2 separate regions of the Homo sapiens genome follow, and region 1 is linked to region 2. Evidence: promoter capture Hi-C in human tissues and cell types (Jung and others, 2019). All regions are on one chromosome and are shown on one strand. The core of a region is centred on a gene start or on the middle of the fragment in contact, and the rest is flanking DNA. Distances in the headings are between cores, read along the strand shown.

Region 1 (6,462 bases), core at 3,896-6,395, 1.1 Mb after region 2:
CTCTTGCCTCTTGGTAATATCTGTGGCCCCTTCTCTCATGCTCTATATACCTTGGAAACCTGCACTTTTGGAAACTCTAAAGGGTGAGACACTTGTGTACTTTCTTGCACAAGGTACACTCATGTTACCACCAAGCCATTTGAAGTTTAGTGAAGACCCTATATCATATTAGCGAAACTCTTCTCCTTCTGGCTAGCCAGTCTCTTGCATGCTTCCACGACCGGGTCTTAGGAAACCTCTAGTTACCCTTCCCTGTTTTTGACCCATGCATTCCTCCTCTCAGTCCCTGAACTTGATTGCCTGTGGTCTAGTTGGGTACTACCACCTGCTGGTCATTTAGATAATGTCTCAACACTGACCACAAAATTCTAACTGCAGTCTTACCTATATTTGTACATCCCACAGTGTTTTACTGATAGTGAGTGCCCAATAAATATTTGTTGTGCAAATGAGTAAATGAAGTTCTATCTTTTTCCCCCTAAAACTTTCATTCAACAAACAATGTCTTCAGTATCAGGCACTGTGCTGGCCACTGGGGAAACATGAAAGGCAGGATCTTAGCTTGGATGGACACAGTCTACTGGAGGATTCAGGCAAGTAAAGACCTAGTTACCTCGAGGGAACTGTCCCTAACATAGCTAGAGGTAAACAACACGTGTCATGAGAGCACAGAGGATGGGCGAGTAAACCAATTGGTAAGAGAGGAGGACCCTCTGTGAGAGCTTTCTGGAGCAGACAGCATCTAAGGTAAGTTTTGGGGCATAAGCAGGAATTGTATAGGGAAGAAGAGGAGGGGAGGGCAGGCACAGTGTCATCAAAAACCTGCAAGTGACTGAAATAGCAGGGAGCATACCAGAATAGAGGGACGGGGTTATGTAGTACAGGCTGGAACGCATGAGACACAGAGTCCAGGCTGGAAAGAAGCGGGGGACGTGTAGCTCAGGAGAGAAAGGAAGCATTTAGCCAAGGTTGACAAGACAGAGAACATGGAGACCAGGCTGGAGAGGGAAGAAGAGGAGAGGCCATAGGGGGCTTCCTGTGTCATGACCAGACCTTTGCATTCATCTCATAGCTGATTAGAGGCAGTTGAGTATTTAAGAGGGATAGTGATCTGGTCAGACTGGTTTGTTAGAAAAATCACTTTGGCAGAGGCGAGTGGAATACTTTGGTGGGTGAAAGGGATCAGAAGGTGGAAAATAAACTTGGAGACTATGGCAGGAATCCAGATGAGATTAGAGGAAGATGCAAATTAAGAAAGGTGGATGAGAAGAGGCAGGTACTACTAGAGTGGAATGGAAGGGCTTGGGGGCAGAGGGAGACGGCGATGCCATCCCCTGCATTTATTTCCTGTTTCTGCTGTAACAAGCTGCCACAAACCTGCTAGCTTAACAGAACACACATTAATTCTCTTACAGTTCTGGAGGTGAGACGTCTAAAATTGGTCTCAGTGGGCTGAAACCAAGGAGCGGGCAGGCTGCGTTCCTTCCGGGGGCTCTGGGAGGGAATCCCCCGCCTTATCTTCTCTGGTTTCTAGGGGCCACGTGCATTCTTTAGCTCATGGCCCGTTCCTCTGTTTTCCAAACCAGCAACGCAGCATCTTCTTGCCTCACTGACCTCTGCTCCATCTCACATGCCCGTCTCTCACTCTGACCCCCCTGCCTTCTCTAAGACCCTTGTGATGACACTGGCCCCCTGATAATCTATATTAATTTGCTAGGGCTGCCATAACAGACTCAGTGGCTTAAACAACAGAAGTTTATTTATTTATTTATTTATTTATTTATTTATTTATTTTTTACAGTTCTGGAGGCTGGAAATCTGAGATCAAGGTGTCAGCAGGATTGATTTCTTCTGAGGCCTCCTTAGGTTGTGTAGGTGCCGTCCTCTCCCTGTGTCTTCACATGGTCTTCCTGCAATGTGCCTGCATCATAATTTTCTCTTCTTATAAGGAACCTAGTCATTGGATTAGGGCATATCCTAAGGACCTCATTTTAGTTTAACCACCTCCTTAAAGGCCCTATACATATTCAGAGGTACTGGGGGTTAGGGCTTCAGCATATGAATTTGGGTGTGGACACAATTTGGCCCATAACAGGATTCTTATCTTAATCACATCTGAGAAGTCTCCTTTGCCATGCAAAGTGACATATTCATGTAGTGTGGGGAATGGATGTGAACACCTTTAGAGAGGGGCCATTTTTCAGCCTAATACATCCCCCAAAATATAAAGTACAGGAGAAAAACCAAGTCTAGGGGTTGAGGCTGGATGCTGGAATTTATGTATGCCAAACCTGTGATGCCTATGAAGCAACCAAGGAAAGAATCTTCCAGGTGATTGAATTTCCTTGACTATAGAGAAAGGCACTACTCTCCACTCTGTGTACTGCATACAGTGTAGGGCCTAGTTATATATTAGGCTGGTGCAAAAGTAATTGCAGTTCTCATTGAAAGTAATGGCAGGCTGGGTGCAGTGGCTCACGCCTGTAATCCCAGCACTTTGGGAGGCCGAGGCGGGCAGATTACGAGGTCAGGAGATCGAGACCATCCTGGCTAACACAGTGAAACCCTGTCTCTACTAAAAATACAAAAATTAGCTGGTCATGGTGGCACGTGCCTGTAATCTCAGCCACTCGGGAGGCTGAGGCAGGAGAATCACTTGAACCAGAAAGTTGGAGGTTGCAGTGAGCCGAGATCGCACTACTGTACTCCAGCCTGGTGACAGAGTGAGACTCCATCTAAAAAAAAAAAAAAAAAGAAAAGTAATGGCAAAAACCACAATTATTTTTGCACCATCCTAATACAGTACTTTTCAATGATTTTCTTACCCCAGTTGGTCTTAGATTCCTAGCTAGATTGCAAGCCCGTTGGTGCTGTTGTCTTGTTACTCTGTTGTGTCTAAACCACTCCAAACTTCATTTTCTTAATTTGTGAAACAGCAATAATAATAGTACCTATTTCATAATGTGGTTTTGGGGGTTAAATAGTGTGTATAAACTGCTAGTGCCTTTGACAGTGCCAGATAAACAGTAGTTATTATTATTATAATTATGATGCTCATAAACCTCCCCTATAGTGGTTGGCATCGCTCTGGGCGTGTGGTAGGTTTTCATGTGCTAACGAGACGTATATCACATAACCTTTTCATGAAGAGTTTAAAGACTTGTCAGAGAGATAAGAATTTACCTAGGGTAAAAGAGAAGGAAATTGATGTGCTTTAGCTCACCAGGTTTGGCAACAAAAATGTTAGAATGAAGATAATTAGAGACCTATTCAGCCACAGTGTTATTGGGTGCTTGATTTTAGGCACACAGTTCAATATCAAGATAAGAGGAAAAAAATTATTTTTGCATAAGACCGAGTATGTGCATGTATCTAACAGGACACCCCTTCTTTCCCCTGCACTCAATTTTTTGCATATGGACATACATAATGAGATAGAAAGTTGCCAGGTTGCAGATTCTTTCTTTTGTAGGAGCTACGTGTTGCCTTAAAGTGAACAGATCATGTTACCCTGAATCTGCATTTAGCCTTGAATATAGATGAACTCTTTTGTCTCAGTGACACAAGTGACAGATCTGGCAAAGCACAAAGCTGAAGTTGCAAAAAGATATAGACAACAGATTATACCGTAACAAGCATTTGGTATAATCTATGAATTTTTTGATAACCTAAATCCTAATTTTCTTGCTAATATAACACTTAGATTCTTATCCATTTTGAATGCTTAGGTTTATGCCTTTCATGTTTTTTATTTATAGGCAGATCCTATCAATAGATGAGAATCAGAGAGAAACAATAAATACATTTTAGCAAAAATAGTGTGGAGGGAAAATAGTTATTTTTCACAACATGTTTCATGTGAAAATATCTGACAGACAGCTTATTTTTTTTTTGGCAAATTGCTAAGGATCCAGAAGGATTAGAAAGTCCTCTTCCTCATGTCATTTGTCTAAAATACTAATTGTCAGAACACTCCAAAACCTCCTGTGCTTGCCAGAGTTTTTTTTATTTTATTTTTATAATCAGAAAAAAATACAGTAATGTGCAAATCTGGATGCAAATTACCTCCTGTTTAATTACATTATAGGTGTAAATTACCCCCAATGCCAAACATTTCTGCCCTGGGTTCCAGAACTGTGTGTTGCAATTACATCTTTCGTGCTCCTTTAAATTTTGCAGTGGTAACAAATGTGTAATACCAATAATTATGAAAACCACTTGCTATGTGCAGCTAATTTAAAATCTAGGTTCAGGATTCTATATTTGAAATGTGAAATTCAACCCTGTCAAATTTCCATCAACACTTAAATCTAAATGGTTCTTCTGTTCACAATGTCAGAAATAAGAAGTGACAAAGTTACCAAAGGCAAAGACTAAGACTCTGGGAATCAGTGAACAGGACAGCATCAGAAGGTTCCGTGACCTTGAACTTCCCTTGGCCTTAGTTTGCTCATCTGCCTAATGGGAGATGATATCTATTCTACTTAAATGAAACTGCTTTTTCAAAGACTAAGTGAGATCTTGCATTAGTTGGGTAAAAAGGCTAAGCTGATTAACGAGAGACCCAATATTACAGTGGCTAAAAGAACAAAGAAGCTTATTCTTCTTTTGTGTACTGATCCTGGTGGGGAGGTGGCCTGTTTTGTACTGTGTGGTCATCTTGGGGTTCTAGTTGGAAATGCGTCCACTATATCTGGGTTCAGAAAATGAGATTTTAATGAATTGATTGGGCCAGAGGGCATGCTTAGAATTCCGATATTATGGCACTCTGTTCTTCTTGAATGTTTCATCCATTACTCACCCCCTATCCAGATTCTACCCACTAGACCACAGCTCCATTTCTGCTTTCTCAGGAAGACTTCATTGCCTCCTCTCTCCTCTTAAGTTCTCCCAGCATGTAGTTGGCATCATGTGATTTGGTAATTATCCCAGCTCGTATTGTTTTATATTGCATATGCAAAGAAATCTTGTTCCTGCAATTAAACTTTAGGCTCTTTAAAGGCAAGGACCTCTTCTTACTGCTGCTTTATCCTTTTCCACTTTCCTCTTCTCACTGGGTATAAAAATAACATGCAATGTACACGTCTTATAAATAGACATATCGAATTAAACAAAATCAAAGAGCACATTAGAGCTGTGATTTCCTAGACTCAGAGGAAACAGAGGGTTTTGACCCTTTTCCTTGTTTTTTATTAATAACATGGTTAGGTTTGCTTAAGTTTAGATTTTGGATTCCTGATGTCCTGATCAGACTTCTCTATGATATCACTTGGGAACTCTTTCCTAAGTCCCGAAGTGTAGGTCAGGTAGTCTAAAAACAAGCTGGCAAGAGCCTGGAATTGTGGCCCTCCAGGTATGTGGCTTGCACTAGAATTAATTGTTGACAATGGCACTTCTGGATTCTCTCCATATTTCTGCTTGTCCCCTGTATTATGAAGGCTGTATACAGCCACATCACCTTTATAAAATACATTTTAACTAGAAACAATCACGGGGATAATTATGCATTTCTGCATTTCATTTACATAGTCAATGGCCAATTAATGTTTGGTGACCAGATGGTAAACTGGAAAGTAATTGATCTTTTCCAATCAATATGTGGAAAACAGTTGACTTTGACCTTTTGGATTTGCTTATCTTGAGGTGTTGTATATACCACAAGCTGGGCATTACAGGCACCCATCAATTACATCGATTGCCCTTTTGATTTTCCCTTGCTGCTGAGCTGGAGTTGAAATCATGCATTGTATCTACTCTAAGCTGGTTTGCACAGAGGAAGAGAAAAAAGGAGGAAGTACTTTGGTGAGTGTTGATGTTTGCTAGGGACCATTGTGGACAGCTTGAACCTCAGTTTTCAGAGGAAGACTAAGAGGGGACGCCTTAAAAACTAGTGGTTTCTCTCAAGGAATCTGCCTCATTCCTGAGTGTCAAGGACAGTCGTAATGGGTTCCAATCACGCATTGCCTCTGAAATCAAAGTGCAGCATTTGATATCTTGACTGATTTCTTCTTGGCCTGTAACTCTGCTATTTTAGACAAATCTGCGTGGGCTCTTGATAGACAGGTAGTAAAAATAGCAACTGTGTCACATGTAACTTTTTCTAATTAAGCATTTACATCACATTTTGTATTTCTAAAGTGATTTGGAAGCACTCAGATTCTTTGCCAGTGACGATGCTTTTGTGAGCCATATTGGTGAAAGCATTTTAAAGCTACCTTAATGTAAAAGAGATTTGAGTGAGCAGCATTGGAACCCACTCTTGGGTCCTAGTTTTTTTTTGTTTTGTTTTTGATTTTGAGACAGAGTCTCGCTCTGTCACCCAAGCTGGAGTGCAGTGGCACAATCTCGGCTCACTGCAAGCTCTGCCTCTCGGGCTCAAGCTATTCTCCTGCCTCGGCCTCCTGAGTAGCTGGGATTACAGGCATGTGCCACTACGCCCGGCTATTTTTTTTTTTTTTTTGT
Region 2 (6,257 bases), core at 2,847-5,346:
ATTTGTTCTCTTGACCTTTCCGCTTTGCTTCCTCGCTCGTTCTGCACCCGGAATAAGGAGATGGGAAAGAGGGATATTTCTGAAGGAGAATACCAGGGGGAGGAGGAGCAGAGGAGAGGAAGACGAGGAGGAAGACTTTCTGGAGTTGCCAAGTGTTAGGGTAGCGGTGAATCTGGCTCCTCCAGTCTATTTTGGGTAAACTTACTGCAGTGCCCCGACTGGCCTGGATACAACCGACATCAAGTGTCTCTAAAACGTTCCTCCACGACTCAGTATTTCTGCAGCTGTTGCCGCTGAATCTCCTTCACTATGCGAAAACAAAAGAAGCGAATCCACTTCTTACCCAAATTGTCCTATAAGGGAGCTGTTTGGTATTGACGGCGGAGTCCCCCTGAGATATTTGTCGTGCATTTATGATTAGTTTCTTTTCTCCCACCCTCTCTAGGGAATTTGCATTTATAGAACATACAAATCTAGTTTCCGGAAGAAAATGCCAAAGTTGCAATTTGGTGTGAGAGTTAATGGAGTTCGATATTTAAAAAAAGCATTTCATAAAGAATTGTGAGTTAAATATTCGGCAGGTCTCTGATATGCCAAGTAAAGCTATTTCTTTGTAGTCGGACAAAGAGTAAAAGTTCCAGCTTAAAAAATAAAAAACCCAAAATTGTAAAATTCACGTTCGAAGACAGGCCAGGGGGACAGCCACTTTTTCCATTTATAAAACCCAGACTGGCTCTCCCTGTGAATCGAATTCCCCGGCTACTGTCTGGCTCTGTGCTTCGGCGCAGGGGGTGTGTGTCTGGAAGAGGGGGTGAAGGTCGTATTTAGGGGTGTGTTCTGACATCTCTGAATTCACCCCAGTGTCCTGCCGGACAGGAACACAGCCAGGAGAGCAGTTTCTAAGTAAAATTTCCGAACCTCTGATCGGGAGGAGAGACTTGGCGCCCAGATGACTGGACCGGACGAGATTGAGCAAAGGGGCTTAAAACCAATTAAAAGGAAATCGAACATACCGCACTGGGTTGCAGACGTGAAACAGAAACATGAAAAAAACGGGGGTGAGGGTCATTTGGGAAGGGTAAATGAAGAAGGGGACAGGGTAAAAGACAGACACCCCCAGTTTTGTATAAATAGATTGTGAATAATTTTAATCATAGTGTTCATTTTGGATTTTTCTTGACCCGGGCTAGAGGCAGAACCGAGCTAGTTGGCCGGAGCCTGAGGAGCGCGTGGGCTCCGCAGTCCCGCGGGATTGGGCTTCCCGGGGCCGCAGCTGCGCTTGCCAGGCCCCCGCACAGCTCGGGGCAGGTTTTGTGTTGCACGAGATCGAAAAGGAGGTTTGTTTGGGGGTAGCTGGAGGCGACAGAGGTGGGAGCAACCCTCCAGGCGCAGCCGCCGCTGCTCATTCCCCCAACCAACGCATGTTTCGCGCGGGTGGCGGACTCCGCGAGCATTCCTACCCAAAACCTATACAGACGCAATTAACCCCAACTGGGTTGGCCGAAACGCCGCCACGCTGGGCCCAAGGCAGTCCTTGTCCCCTCACGCTCGCGCAGGCACTTCAGCCTGGCCAACAGGGAACTTCAACGCCCGCAGCGAGCCACACAGCCATCCCTGGAGCTCCCAGCAGCACTGCCGCGGGGGGCGCCCTTAGCGCAGCCGGCAAGTAGTGGGGAAGCCCCACTCTGTCAAAGTTCGGGACCACGGCTCCCCCAAATTGCCTCCCAGCGGGGCACCGAGGCCCCTGAGCGCGTCTCGGGGGGTTGGCTGGGAGGAGGGGCGCCCGCCGAGCGCGGCCCCGTCTGTTTTGGGGCGGGCAGCAGGGAGCTGGGAGAAAGGAACAATTCATTCGCTTCCTGAGGGGGCATAATTTGGGTGGCAGCTGTTACCGCCGAGAAAAGCTGGTGCCCTCGACCCTGACTTTGCCCTTTAACCCCAGCCAACCTGAGCCTGAGGGGTAAACTGTTGGGGCTTGGCCCAGGCCCACTGCTGACCAGAGGCCTCTCCGGGTGCCCTGCGCACCTTTCCGGGGCAACGTGGAGGTACAGCTGATCAAAGCCCCCTTGAAAAAAAAATCACCGGGCTCATAGGCATGTCTTGAAGGGCTCACGGCTGTTCCACACTCTCTGCCAAGGAACTCAAGGCTTTGGCCCCGCTGGGCGCAGACCCCAGACGAAGGGGGTGGGGGGGAGTTGCTTGAGGTTCGGAGAGATTTATAAAGAGAGACCGTAGAAGACTCCAGGTGATCAGTTTTTGCTGGGACCGAAATTCTCCGTAAAACCTGCATGTAACAGAGAATTGCCGAGTTGAAACAGGGCAGTGAATCTCATCCCTACAAATTTCCCTCCCTACCCCCTTCTTCCTTTGGACACTCCTGTCTTACTTGGCTTTTACTAGCCACCCGATCCATTTCCCAATCGCCCTGTATGGCTCTCCCGCCCCTTCCAGTCCAACAGGGAGGACCAAGCCAGAGCTCTGGGGTCGGGGTACCACAGTCAACACAACCCAGAGGCGGGGGGTTTACCTTCTCTACCTTCCCCCAAATCAATGACCCCAGTCCCTGGATCCCGGGGCCTGTGCAGAGACGGTCCGTGCACCCGCCCCGCAAACTCCCTAACCCCCTATCCGTTTTCAAGCGAATCTCCGCAGTTCGGACCAGCACTTCCTAGTCGCAATCCCGCGCACGCAGCGTGGTGCCGCGGTTTGTCCCTTGGGGAGGTGGAGGCGCGCACCGGTCCCTTTCTCGAGAGAGCCGAGTTTTCTTGAAGTGCAAGCTTCCTGTCAGCCTAGGCAAACCAGTTGCAAGGCGCTGTGTCCTCTAGCGGCAAACTCTAGCAGTTCATTTGCGAGCGCTCACCTACACCTAAGGGATCTGGTCTCTCAAATCTGAGACCCAAGAGGGGAGAAAGTGCCCTGAACGCAGTCCAGGCGCTCGCAAATGCCCTCCCCGTAATGAGACCGGGAGACTGGGGCGCAATCGCTCGAACTACGAACAGCTGATTGTCTCCTCCACGGCAGATGGTCTTTGAGCACAGATTTGCATTCATTGTCTTCAAATCTGTTTTCGCGCTGGTGTTCTAGATTTCAGCAGCAGCAGATCTATGCGCAGATCAGAATACAAAAGGAGAAGCAAGAAAATGACACCCAGCCAGGAGGATGTTTAATAGGCACCGCGAGCAGCCCCGCGCAGTTAAAAAACCGTCTAGGGTTTCAGCTGTTCGGTGAGGCTGCTGCCACCGCCTGCCGGCCACCAGCCCGCGGCCAGCACCGCGGCGACCGCGCGCGGTGGGCGAAGTTTCCACGACTCCCCCGTCCCTCCCCGCCCACTACCGGGGGCTTCGGGAACGGAGAGGTGGGGAGGGAACCGGAGGACCCGCGGGAATACTCCCCGGCCGCTCGCGCACTCAGCCCGCCTCGATCTGTCAGCAACCTCTCCTCCACACGGGTGCGACTGCCGCTCGCGCCCGCCCGCCCGCGGGTGTTTTCCTTAGGTCCTGGACCGTTTTCCCCAGCACTGTATTTGAGCAGCACTTGCCCCTCGCTTGTCCGCCCCACCCCATCCCCCGCCTTCTTTCATATGTTCTCCACTCTCAGCAACGTGCAAGCCGCACACAACATCTGATATCACCATGGAACTCCAGGAGACCTGGGGAGCCATTCAGGGAGCTGGGTGCTCTGGGGGACGTTTGCGCAAAACATAAGCACATGTGGCCACGCTCACAAGCATGCACACAGATCCGAACCCCGGGAACGAACGTGCCTCCCGGCAGGCTACAAAAGCCTACATCTAGAGGCAGGATCCAGGGAGGCTTCCCGCAGCCAGGCCGAACCCCTGCGTCCCCAGCCCGCAGAGACCTGCTACCCTAAGTCAGTGCAGGGTGTGGGGGCCCCCCAATCCTGCGCAAGCACACGGGGTTCGTGCTAGGACTCGACGCCCGCAGCTTTCTGTCCCCTTTCACCTCCCGGAGTCCCGGCAACGCAGAGCGTGGCGCGCGCCGCCGGAGGACGTCGGCCCGGCTTGCCAGGCGCCGGCCAATCCCGCGCGTCCATGCAAATGAGGCTCCTTATCGGGCCGCAGCTCCGCCTCCCGCAGCCAGGGCCGTAGTAACCCATTCATGGGGCCCGCGCGCGGCTGCAGCCGGGCTCCGTGGCGCTCGCAGCCACCGCCTCCTCTCGGCTCCAGGTCTTCCCCTTCTTTTTACAACTGATCCTGTTGGGGATTTTTTTTTTTTCTAAATTGGAACGGTGGGGAGGAGCAGGGAGGGGGGACCTGGAGGAAGGGGAGAGATTAGGCAGCCATCAATTTCCTCCAGTTTCTCCCAGAACAGGTGATGCTTCTAAATTGTGATCACTTTCAGGAGGCAGCACTGCAGCTGGAAGGATGCGAGCGACCTAGGGTGGAGTGGCTGAGGCGGCAGATCTGAACTTGCGGAGGATAAGAACCCAAACTTTGACTACATCAGTCCGCACCTCGCCAGTGAAGCAAAGGACGGGTTATCTTTTTTTTTTTTCTAAGACTCAAACTTGGGCACTTGATCCCTTTTCTTGGATTGCTTTGGAGGAGACGATTTGCTGGCAACGTTGGGAACAGTCAGGACTGTGTTGTAACTCTTACTTTTAAAGCGACAGTAGAGGATCAGACTTTTTAAATGTTTGGAATTCAAGATACTTTAGGAAGAGGACCAACTCTGAAAGAGAAATCGCTGGGCGCGGAGATGGATTCGGTCAGGTCCTGGGTCCGGAATGTCGGAGTGGTGGACGCTAATGTCGCCGCGCAGAGGTAACGACACGGCCGCGCAATTATTATGCTGTCTCTCGCTCTTACGGTCTGTCTCTCCGTGTGCACCCCCCCCGCGCACCCCGTGCCTTTCTCTCTCCCTGTCCCCCCATCTGTCGCCCAGGCCCTGCGCGCTGGGGCTCGCCCTCGGGCAAGCAGATCGCTGCAGTCAGGCGAACGCTCACCCGGCAGCCGGCACTCGAGTTCCTGAACTGCCTGGGTCGTAGGCGTTTCTCTCCCTCTCCTTTACCACAGTCCACTCTTTGCAAGGAAAAATAAAGTAGCCCCCAACATCTCCCAGCTCAGCCCCTAGTCCTGCAAGCCGAGCCGGCCTGGCCCCGAACGGAGCGTGAACACCGGCGCTGGCAGTGGCGGCGCGGGAGGAAAGCCGGCTTCCTGGCCACTCTTGGCTTCGCCACGCCGCCTGCGAGCGCCTACCTCCCGCATCTTGCTGGGCGATTCCTGGAGCCTGGGAGGCCGGCGGCCAGAGGGTGGCGGCGGCGAGGGGAGCGGGAAAAGCCGGAGCGGCTGCCCGGGAAGACGAGGCGGCCGGGAGCTCTGGGAGGGGGGACAGGCTGGAGGGTCCCGGCTCAAAGATAAAACAGTGAGCCAGACGAACGGAGCTAGGGAACTGGAGAAAAGAAGAGATTTAAAAGAAGAGAAAATACTGAGTCACAGTAGAAAGAGTTGCGGAAGAAGAAAGAGGCGAGAAAAGGCCACCAGCAGCTAGACTGGCTCAGGGATCGCCAGCCTCTGGTTTTGCGGATCCCTGAAGTTGACTTTGTGTTTAGGCGTCTGCGTGCTGGGATAGTAAATACCATGTCCGGGGTGCCACCCTACGAAGACATTACGGTCCCACTCTCTCATCACCACTACTGAGTTGGGATTTGTGGCCTCCAGGTCCTTGTCTGCGAGAGAGGCAGCCCTTCTACCCCCAAAGAGCCGATGAACTTCTTCCACTACCCTCGCTTCCCCTGCTGCCCTCCTGGCCACCCACATTTAAGTGCCAACATCACACGGAGAAATGATCCCTTTCCCAAACTGGCCAGGTGTCCCGGGTAGAGCGAACCGGCCTCTACCCTTGGAGCGGAGAAAGCAGAAGTTTTATCGCTCCGGGACTTGGGCCGGCGGCGGTTCCCTCCCTCCTGTGGCCCGGGGAGCGCGGATTTCCCTCCGGCAGACCGCACAGCGCGGCGGCCGCGGCTTTCCGCAGCGCTTCGGGACTGGCCCGCCTGCGAGCTAAGGGAAATAAGGCAGCACCGCAGAGCCAACTGTGCCGCGCATTTCCTTAGCTGGGCTCCTTAAAGACGCCTCCCTCGCTTTCCTTCCTTCCCGGGATCAAAAAGTTTGTTGAAGCTGGAAGGAGCAGACTTAGTGGGGGAGAGCTTAGCCAAAATGTTACCCCTTTCAAAAGAGTGAATGAAGGTGCTTGCGCACCGGGGTTCAACCTGGGAGACCCCAGCGCCGCAGGGCAGCTCCC

The links. The method cuts DNA at HindIII sites, captures the fragments that hold promoters and counts their contacts. A contact is called where the count stands out against the background at its distance.
Region 1: a contact is called between a fragment that was not itself captured here and the fragment with the promoter of EBF2 in region 2, in 1 of the 25 tissues and cell types used here (dorsolateral prefrontal cortex).

What each region holds. Positions count from the first base shown.
Region 1 is chr8:24,899,997-24,906,458 of GRCh38, reverse strand. No RefSeq gene overlaps it. Among named protein-coding and RNA genes, the nearest start is that of NEFM, 11 kb to the left of the region's middle. The HindIII fragment of the contact is 6,177 bases long and covers 2,057-6,462 here.
Region 2 is chr8:26,043,252-26,049,508 of GRCh38, reverse strand. It overlaps EBF2 (EBF transcription factor 2), which reads left to right and starts at 4,096. Exons shown (of 16, transcript NM_022659.4): 1 at 4,096-4,780. The coding sequence starts at 4,650. RefSeq lists enhancers at 1-389, 788-1,580 and a silencer at 5,882-6,176. The HindIII fragment of the contact is 15,996 bases long and covers 285-6,257 here.